3 separate regions of the Homo sapiens genome follow, and all the other regions are linked to region 2. The links are contacts of gene promoters, found by promoter capture Hi-C in blood cells and fetal thymus (Javierre and others, 2016). All regions are on one chromosome and are shown on one strand. The core of a region is centred on a gene start or on the middle of the fragment in contact, and the rest is flanking DNA. Distances in the headings are between cores, read along the strand shown.

Region 1 (3,238 bases), core at 108-2,607, 2.0 Mb after region 2:
GGCCCCTGGAGCCTTGTGCAGGAGCAGCGTCTGCGGGAAGGGCAGCTGAAAGCAGGAGCACATCGGGTGCCACCCAGTGGGGTGGAACAGCAGAGAAGAAGGCAGGTGCCCCAGGCAACTCCTTGATGTGTTTGCCTTGAGGAGGGGCCCAGAGGATGCTTCATGGGGACAAGAGGTGCCAGTAGAGGGGAGAGGCTGTGGTTTTAGGGAAGAGGACAAGAGGAGGGAGGTCAGAGAGATTGGGGTTGGCCTGGAGTTCTAGGGACCGCTCGTCTTTTCAAGACTTTTCTGACTAGACCTTCTGGAGAACTTTTTATAATTTCCACTTAGAGTTTTTCCAGAGGAGGAACAAGAGGCTTTGATGGGGACATCCAAGAACTGGTGTGACCTGGGGGATGGCGCTGTGCCTGGCAGAAGCTGTGCCCCAGGGGAAGGAGGCAGGCCCTAGTCCCCAGACTCCCCTCTTCTGCAGCTAGAAGGAGGATGGCAGGGCCAGGCAGGACACAGAGAAGAGCCAGCAGGGCCCATCCCCTCTAGGTGAGCGGGATCTCCGGGCCCCCAGGAAATGGGAGCATCCAAAGCAGCATTGACCACAAGGGGCAGGGAGGAGAGGCTGGAAAGGAGGTCTGTGCATAACGCCTCCGATTCCTGGTAGAACCTCACAACAGCTCGTTGACGGCGGGTCGGTGAGCATTTAAAGAGCAGCAGATTCTCATTCAGAGGCAGTGTGGTTCCATGGAAAGCAAAGCATTTCAGTGATGCGTGCTTAATTCAATCAGCTTACTTTACGCAAAAAGGATCCAGTGCCAGGAGTCCCCGGCCTGTCATGAAGGGTGGGGACAACGGTGTCCAAGAGCCACAAATAAAATGCCAAGGGAATGCTGTGACGGGGGCCCTGGAGGGCTTTGTGGAGGAGGTTGAAAGATTCTCAGAGCCTTCAACAATGCTCTGTGGAAGAATTTGGGAGGTTACATTGAAATGGTAGGTGGGCGAGGCTGGGGGAAAAAGGGAAGATTTCCAACACTTTGGATCTACAAGGACACAACAGGTTTTGTTTTTTTAAATGGCTGTGGCTAAAATCAGCTTCCTGGTAGCATCATAAATGGGGATGGAAACCCTCATAAGCCTGGTGTCAGTGGTGGTGGCACCTTGGTGAGCAGGTGACCAAATGGCCTGAGTGGTGACGTTAATCTACCTGTTCACTGGCTGTTGCCAAAGCGAGGCCTATTGGGACAGGTTTGCATTTCTTCTTGGCTTCTAAGACCAGGTTATGACAGACATCCTACAATGCAGGAGGAGCTGGACAGGAGGACAACATCACACCTGGCCCTGCCATCCTCCATCTCCAGAAGCCATGGTCCAGCAGGGAGATGCACGACTCATGGTCTTCCACGCTGAGTGGAAAAGCCATGGCAACGCGGGCACTGCCAGGGGTTTCAGGGTGCTCTGCATCTGTTTCTTAAATAAGACTGTCTTGTTAATCCTGAACATTCCAGCTGCTTTTGTCACAGTGTCCCCGGACAAGAGGGAGCCTGAGAGAGACTTAGAGATCAGGAGAAGCAAACCGGCCCACAAGTGTGATGGATGCTGTGTCAGAGTGTCTAGGATCCAGGAGCCCCGCTCTCCCCTTAGAGACGGATGCAGTTCCGTGCACACAGGCCCTCTTTCCTGTGTAGGGGAGGGGCATGCTGTCTGCACATGGCATGCTCCCTCCTGCCCAGGGAAGCCAACTGCCATATTAGCAAAGATGGTTTGAAAATGAACAAGAATCCCAACTTAAAATATATATATATATGCAGTCATTCCTTGGTATCCGAGGGGGATTGGTTCCAAGACCCCCATGGTAACAAAATCTGCAGATGCTCAAGTCCCTGATATAAAATAGTGTCGTATTTGCATAGAACTTACACAATCCTCTTGTGTACTTTAAATCATCTCTAGATTACTTATATATATCTAATACAATGCAAATGCCAAGTAAATGGTTGTTATACTGTCTTTTTAGAATTGGTATTATTTTTCATTGTTGTATTGTGATTTTTATTGTTTTTTAAAGTATTTTTTATCCTGGCAGGGTGCAGTGGCTTACGCCTATAATCCCAGCATTTTGGGAGGCTGGGTCACTAGACCCTAGGAGTTGGAGACTAGCCTGGGAGACAAAGTAAGACCCCATCTCTACAAAAAAAAAAAAAAAACGCTGGATGTGGGGTCGGGCACCAGTGACCTCAGCTACACGGGAGGCTGAGTCAGGAGGATTGCATGACCCAGAGGTCTAGGATGCAGTAAGCCGTGATCACACCACTGCACTCCAGCCTGGGTGACAGAACAAAACCCGTCAAAAAAAACAAAAAACAAAAAAAAACAAAGAAACATAAAACTGTTTTTTAATCCGAAGTTGGCTGAATCCATGGAACCCACAGGTGTGTAGAAGGACATCTCCCACAATGTTAAGTCATCACTTACCAGTGTCAGCTTCCTGATGTGGCTAAGTTTAGACACACACGCGGGCTCGCACGAAAGATCCTAATGTCGAATAAATTGGGGGGAAAAATCAGTTCAGCTAGATGGACAGATTCCTGGAAGTCTTAGTGTGCACACATGTGCTGTGCCTGTGCAGGAGGGCAGTGGGGAAGGCAGAGCCCCGTGTGAAGGGACATCTTTGACAACAAGAGCATTTCCAAAACCACCGGGGAAGTATGCATGTGCAGCAGGTGGGTTTCAGTTCCCTCCAGCGTCTCACATGCTGGAACGGTCTCTCCATCAGCTCTGACCCAGGCCCAGAGGCCTGACACTCCTGCTGAGTGCTCAGGTCCTGGTGGCACAAGCCTTCCCCAGTCCTGCAGCCTTCGGGAAGCGGCGGTGCCCAGGGCGCAGAGCTCTGGCGTTGCACTCATGGGCTTATGCTGCCCTCTAGTGCTGTGCTCTTGAAATAGCTGTGTGGCTTTGCCACTTAAAGCTGATGCGGAATCTAGGGCCTCGTGGGCCCTCTAAAGAAACTGCCTCATTGCATCAAAATCAATGCCCTGCTCTTCTAACAGACGCTCTCTAATGCCCTGTAATGAAACCCATACAGATGATCACCTATCTATGCTCCAAATCGCAAAAGATAAACATAATGTCTTAACTTTAATATAAAGTGGAAGTATAAGAACTTAAAGAAAAGTAGCTTTTATAGCATGGAACTTGTCTTGCAATGAGCTTGACCTACACTCACCAGAAGCAATTTCTTAAATACCCA
Region 2 (3,193 bases), core at 334-2,833:
GTTTACTTTCCACCCTTAATTTATTACCTTAATACTTCAGCTTAAGAATTATGTGTTCTGTATATATCACGCTGCTTGTCAATATCCACACATAAACCTTCTTGTTTTGACAATTAATCTGAAAAAGTCCCCATATAGTCTGAGAGGGGGAAAACCTAATTTGGAAGAATATAATAAATGTCAGTTTCCATCACAGAATATATGCTTCTCAAGTTCAATTAACCTCTCAATGATTCCCTAAGAGGAAAGTAATTCTCCTTAGTGTCCTTGTCATCCATGGAGTGGAAATCTTTCTACTGGCAAGATTAGTAATCACTTCCATGACCCCCAAAACGGCTCTTCCTTCCATTTCCCTCAAGTACTGTCTGGAGCAGCGGTTGGAATTAATAGAGGGGCCATAATCTCCAGACCTGAATACCAAATCAATCCTGCAGCCCCCCACACCCTTAATGCCCCTGCACTTTCTTGCTTATCCTTTTTCTCTCGTCTCCATTTTTCTTTCCTCCTTCTGGTGTTCCGGAACCTATGATACTCTCCTGGTTGTTTGAATTTTTACAACCTACCAGATAATAATCTCTTGTGATCCTCAAAGCTTCCTTAAAGCAAACCCTGAATCACTGTGTTTTAAAACCAGTATGAAAGACTATTGTGTGGGATAATGTTACATTGTTTCACAGCCCTACAAAGTTTGGCCACAAAACGTGTGGGCAGATTCCGTAACTCAACCGGAAACGCGAAGGACTGAAACAAATCAACACACAAAAAACGAAGCCAGCGAGAAAGATCCAACCCGGGCCCCCTGCCTGAAATGGGACACGGGGATGACGGGGCAAAGCCGGGCAAAACCGTGCTCCTGGCTCTCGCGATTCAGGAGACGCGCCAGGCTCACTGGGGACGACAGCGACGACGGCGGCGGCTCGCATTGCTCCACGCTTCCCGTCAGGGGGGCTCGAGGGACCGCCCCAGGCCCGGCCCATGCCCGGGCTCGGAGGGAGCCCCTGGTGCGAGGGCTGCCCGCAGGGCTCCGTCCTCCCGCTGAGGCGCGGCTCCCGGAGCAGGAGGCGCGGAGGCCGCCCTCGGCGTTTCGGAGTCGGGGCGGGGAACGTCCACGGCCAACTGCGGGCAGGGGACCCCCAGGCGGCTACAACAGGTGCGCCGGGGCCGCCCACCCGGCTCGGGGCGCGCCCGCCCCTGCGCCGACCCCCGACCCCTTCCGCCGCCGGGGCCCCGCTGTTACCTGCAGCGGCGGCTCCCGATTCCCGGGAGGGCGGCCCAGGGCCGGCGCCTTACCCGCGGGCAGGCCCACTCGCCCGACGGACGCCGCGGGTCGGCGACAGCGGGGACCGCGGGTCGGCGACGTCGGGGCACAGGTCCTGCGGGGCCGCGGGGGCCGCCAGGGAGGGCGCGACCGCCTGACCGGGCTTCAGGAGCAGTGTCCTCAGCCGGTGACCTGGCCGCTACCCTCGCTCAGTGTCCCCGGCGACGCGCGGGTCCTCACGCGCTCCCTCACTTCCTGCGGCTTTTGGTCCCTCCCGCTCGCCGTCCCTTTAGTTCTGCCCACTTCGCCTCCGGGTTGTCAGGGCAACCGTAGCGACGCCGGCCCTGGCTGAGAGGCGTTAGGAGTCCGGGGGTTCGCCCGCGGAGGCCGGGGAGCAGCCGACCATGGAGCCCCAGAGTAAGGGAGGCCCGGGCTGGAGCTGGGACCGGGGCGGGCGACCGGGCTGGGGCTCCCCGGGAACGAGTGTGGGCGCCCCGCGCGCGACTCCGCAGGTTTCAACGCTCGGACACGGAAATACGGTTTGCGTCTCCTCGCGCTTTTCTCTCCTGGAGAGGGGAGAAGGGGGCTACATCCTGCCAAGTCTGTATGGTTGGGCCGCCGGCGCCCTAGAGTCCGCGCTGGGGGCTGGGAGCGACTGGAGAGCCCCGAGGTATGGGTGGGGAAGGGCGCAGCGACCCCAGCGTGCGTCTTCCTGAAACTTCGCCCGGACGGTTCCATTTACTCCTCCTCCTACTCATGATTTTAGTTTGGTAGTTTGGTTCATTAATTGTAAGTAGCCCATTTTTCTTCTAAAATGTCAGCAATTAAACACGTCCGAGGCTGGGTCTTGTATTTATTAGAGACCCCGTCTTACTCCCCGCCCCCCGCCCCACACCCCTAGTCTGCGACTTGAAGGAGAGAGAGAGAAAAGAAGAGCTTTGTCCAAGTGTATTTGATTCATTCTTAGGGGTTCTACAAGTTAGGACACTCAAAAAATGTTTGTAATCTCTTTTTCTGTTTTCCCATGTTGCTTTCGATGTATGGCAAAAGTTGTGCAGTTTTGAGTTATCAGATCTAAACACGAGCTCTAACTTACTATTTTTGTTGTTGTTTTTACCTTTCCAGGGACTTTGTTTCAAGGCCTTTCTTTCTCTGCCCCGCCTAAGCTGTCTTATTGTTCCTTTTGTTCTCAAAATAAGGGGAGTGTTTTGTATGGAGACTTAAAATTTATCTAAAACCTTTATAGAAGGATGCAGTTTGACTCTCAAACCAAGTCGTCTTATCTTGTACAATTTCAGAAATGAAGAACTCAGACCAAATCTATTCTCTGGGGAAAATGTTGGCATTTTTAAAGGTCATTCGTTTTCCACCAAGAAAGTTTCAAATACTTTTCCTTTTAACTCATTTGCTGAGGAGAAAGCTTGCAAGTTGTGACTTATAGTTGCTTGATAGATTTTGTACAGTATTTGTCATTTGCATTTACAGCTCTTTGGATTCTACATTTTTTTAACCTAGTAAAAGAAATTTAGCATACAAGAACGCTAAAATTTTTGTTTTATGTCAAACTGATGGCAGGCTGTGTATATTCCCGCCTTAGAGAAGTGAGTTGAAATATACCTTTTAAAAACAGCAACTTGGCCTGGCCCGGTGGCTCACGCCTGTAATCCCAGCACTTTGGGAGGCTGAGGCAGGCGGATCACGAGGTCAGGAGATTGAGACCATCTTGGCCAGCATAGTGAAACCCATCTCTACTAAAATACAAAAAAAAAAAAAAAAAAAAAAAAAAAAAAAAAAAAGCCAGGTGTGGTGGCGCGTGCCTGGAGTCCTAGCTATTTGGGACGCTGAGGCCGAGGCAGGGGAATCGCTTGAACCCGGGAGGCGGAGGTTGCAGTGAGGCCAGATTGCACCGCTGCACTCCAGCCTGGTGACAGAGCG
Region 3 (3,371 bases), core at 336-2,835, 1.0 Mb after region 2:
ACCTCGGCCTCCCGGGTTCCAGTGCTTCTCATGCCTCAGCCTCTTGAGTAGCTGGGATTACAGGTGCCTGCCACCATGCCCAGATATTTTTTTTTAGTAGAGATGGGGTTTCACCACGTTGGCCAGACTAGTCTTGAACTCCTGACCTCAGGTGATCTGCCCATCTCGGCCTCCCAAAGTGCTCAGAGTTACAGGCATGAGCCACGGTGCCTGGCCTGTTTCACTGTATTTCTTATGGTGTCACTTGTTCCTCAACCTCCTCTATTTCCTGTAAGCACGAAGTTGGGTCTAAAGTCTTGAATATACACTTTTGGGCTGGGTGGCATTGTGCATTGTGACTACATGCCTGGTCATCCAGTATGATGCCCAGATCTCCCACTGAATCCAAGAGGCAGTGGGCATAGGCCTTGTTCCTCTCCTTTCAAAGGGCAAAAAATCTGTGGTCAGGCCCCTTTTCCTGCATAAAATCTCCACATCCCTGTTCCATTCTCATCTCTCCCCACCGACTGAGAAACATGCCCCATTGACTCACTGTGCCTTCTGGTACCTCCACCAGGCAAGATTTTGCTGAATTTACCTCCTGAATTTGCAGTGCACATGTGTGAAATTTTTTGGAATTAAAAAAATTAAAACTGTACTTTTCAAGATTTAAAACTGTAATATTGATTGTGTTCTTCATGGCCCCAAAGCAAGATTCTGTTGTATCTTGGAGGAGGGGGGTCACTACTCTGAAATCCCAGTGATGGGCAGCACTGAGCAACTGAGAGCCTCAGCATTCTTGGGCTTGTTCACACCCACAAGCTTGGCACAGATCCAAGTCCTGCAAGATGCCTGGGAGGGCAACTGAGACCTGTGGCCCAGCCACATTGACTCAGGAGGTAAAAATGTCAACAGGCCACAACCTCCAGGGCTCCTGGAATTGGAGACGAAGCCAGTTCTGAGCTTATGCAACCATAGGACAGTGAGAGAGGGCCATGGACTCGATTTAGAGCCACAAGATGAGAGCACTGCTGGAGCACCGTGGGGATGCTGACAAATCTTCTCAGGGCTTCAAGGACCGTGGCTACAGGTACATCTCAGCCAAACTTGGGCACATGTTGCAATCAAGGGACTGAAGCTACAACCACCTGGCCCGTGGTCCACCTGGAGTTTTGTTTTGTTTGTTTTTGAGATGGAGTCTCACTCTGTCACCCAGGCAGGAGTGCAGCGGTGCGATCTTGCTTCACTGCAATCTCCACCTCCTGGGTTCAAACAATTCTCCTGCCTCAGCCTCCTGAGTAGCTGGGACTACAGGTATGCGCACCCACGCCCAGCTAATTTTTGTATTTTTAGTACAGACAGGGTTTCTACTAAAACCCTGGTTGGCCAGGCTGACCTCGAGCTCCTGACCTCAAGTGATCTGCCTGCCTCAGCCTCCCAAAATGCTGGCTGGGATTACAAGCATGGGCCACTGTGCCCGGCCCCACCTGGAGTTTTAAAATTCTGATTTATAAATTTATTATATGACAGTCTACCAAAAGTATGCAAATCCGGCACTACACTTATTTATGCATTCAGTGAGTCACCTTTATCTGAGTGCAAGTGGCAACTGTTCTAGAAAATGGGAACCATGAGGTTATCAAAGAACCTGGAGGTAGGGTCAGATGAGGAAGCACATCATTATGATGTCTTACACATGCAGTCATGTCTCCTCTTATAATCCTAAGACTCACCTGTGAGATTCCTATTACAGCCCCTAGTTTACATGTAGGAATATCAGAACCCCAAGGTTTAGAAACAGAACGGCCAGAAACAGGAGGAGGATGGCCATGCAGCTGGGCGTGGCAAGGCCAGGCCTCCCAAGTCTGCATGACTCTTAAGCTCCTGGCCATTCGTTACAGCACGCCATCTCCAATGCAGAATCACACCAACAGAACTGAAACTGCACATTAAAGAGAAGGCGAGTGTCACCAAAATCTGTTTCCCAGGCTTCTTTGCAGAATTCCAAATTCCTAGCACGACCAATAAGGCCCTTCTTCTACCTCTGCAGCCTCAATTTATGTCACTTTCCTGTTGTTCCCTATGCTTCGGCCATCCTGGCCTTTCTGTGCTCTGAAGGAGTGGTGCTCCTTCCTAAACCAGGGCCTTTTCACGTGCTGTTCCCACTCCAGTTCACCTAGCTGGTTTCTGCTTATCCTTAAAGTCTGGGTTTATCTTATTTCCTCAAGGGAGGCCTCCCTGCTCTGGAGCAGGTCAGGCCACCATGTCCTTTACCGTAGAGCACCCTACTTGTCCTGGACAGCACCTTCACAGATGCTTCTCCTTCAAGGGGTCAGAGTCACCAGGCCACCACTACAGCGCCTGAGCCCCGGAGGTTTCTGATTTCCACAGAAAGCTTCAAGTGCATGCTGTGTGTGAGTGAGCCTGGCCACTTCCTCTGTGGGACTTCAGTTCCTTATCAGTAAAACAGAGCCCGTGGCTTTCCATGAATGTGGGGTTGACTTACCAGAATGCTCAGGTCCCACGTTATCCTCTTGAACGCAGCAGCTTTCCTCTAACCCACGAAAATGGAAAAGCTCCTGTGCCATTCCCAAATACTTATTTAATCTGCATTCTGGGTGGCCCCTAGGGCAGGTGACGGGCATTCTCTACCGCAGGATGGTGCCCCACCTGGTCCTCCCCAGGCCCTGTGGCCATCCTGGCCACCTCCCTGTGGGCTCTCCCAGCCCTGCTGTTCAGCACTGTCCCTACCTCACAGAGGTAGGGACCTCTTTTTCTTACCTTCTTCCTTTTCTTACCTTCGTTCCTCCAATCCCTGACGGCCCCCAGACCTACTGTAGTTGTCTCTGTGTCTTCGGAGAGAAGACACCCCATTAATGTGCCATGAAACCAAATTTATTCCATTTAAAGGGCTGCCTTCATTCGGAGGCTTTGTCCATGTCTTGGTTTTAACCTCTCTTTTCTGAAATTACAGTAAAAATAAATAGGTGTGTGTTGCTTTAACTTTTCCCTTGGAGAAATCTGAAGCCCCCACCTTTTACTGTCATGGGAAACACCAGGGCCTGAGAAGAACTCCCACCTCGGGCGAGGATGCCGTTCCTGAGCCCCACGCGTGGCCTGGGCTTTCCTTTCCCTACTTCTCTCTTCCCCCGACTTCAGCAGATCCTGAGTCCCACAACTATTCTAGCATTAGCTTCTGCAAGCCCAGCTGGGCTGAGGTTTCTGCGGCTGCTTCCTCTTGGTCTCTCTGGAAAACTCCACTCATTCAGCACCCAAGCAAGAGGTCACCTGTCTGGAACGCACTCCCTCGGCAGCGCTGTGCCACCTCTTTCCACCCCATTTGAGTGGCCGGCACTTACCTGTGCTGTTTGTTACCTGACGTGTCCCTTCTC

The links. The method cuts DNA at HindIII sites, captures the fragments that hold promoters and counts their contacts. A CHiCAGO score of 5 or more calls a contact.
Region 1: a contact is called between a fragment that was not itself captured here and the fragment with the promoter of FANK1 in region 2, in 1 of 17 cell types (naive CD8 T cells). The highest score is 5.0, in naive CD8 T cells.
Region 3: a contact is called between a fragment that was not itself captured here and the fragment with the promoter of FANK1 in region 2, in 1 of 17 cell types (M2 macrophages). The highest score is 5.6, in M2 macrophages.

Annotation. Positions count from the first base shown.
Region 1 is chr10:127,851,264-127,854,501 of GRCh38, forward strand. No RefSeq gene overlaps it. Among named protein-coding and RNA genes, the nearest start is that of CLRN3, 40 kb to the right of the region's middle. RefSeq lists a silencer at 2,827-2,906. The HindIII fragment of the contact is 5,917 bases long and covers 1-3,238 here.
Region 2 is chr10:125,894,981-125,898,173 of GRCh38, forward strand. It overlaps FANK1 (fibronectin type III and ankyrin repeat domains 1), which reads left to right and starts at 1,584. Exons shown (of 11, transcript NM_145235.5): 1 at 1,584-1,675. The coding sequence starts at 1,663. It also overlaps a transcript of DHX32 not described here. RefSeq lists silencers at 1,089-1,168, 1,389-1,468, 1,629-1,768, 1,860-2,154. The HindIII fragment of the contact is 2,086 bases long and covers 591-2,676 here.
Region 3 is chr10:126,901,502-126,904,872 of GRCh38, forward strand. LOC105378550 (a long non-coding RNA gene) reads right to left here. Exons shown (of 2, transcript XR_946449.3): 1 at 3,059-3,371; 2 at 1-2,941. Among named protein-coding and RNA genes, the nearest start is that of DOCK1, 2.2 kb to the right of the region's middle. The HindIII fragment of the contact is 1,573 bases long and covers 800-2,372 here.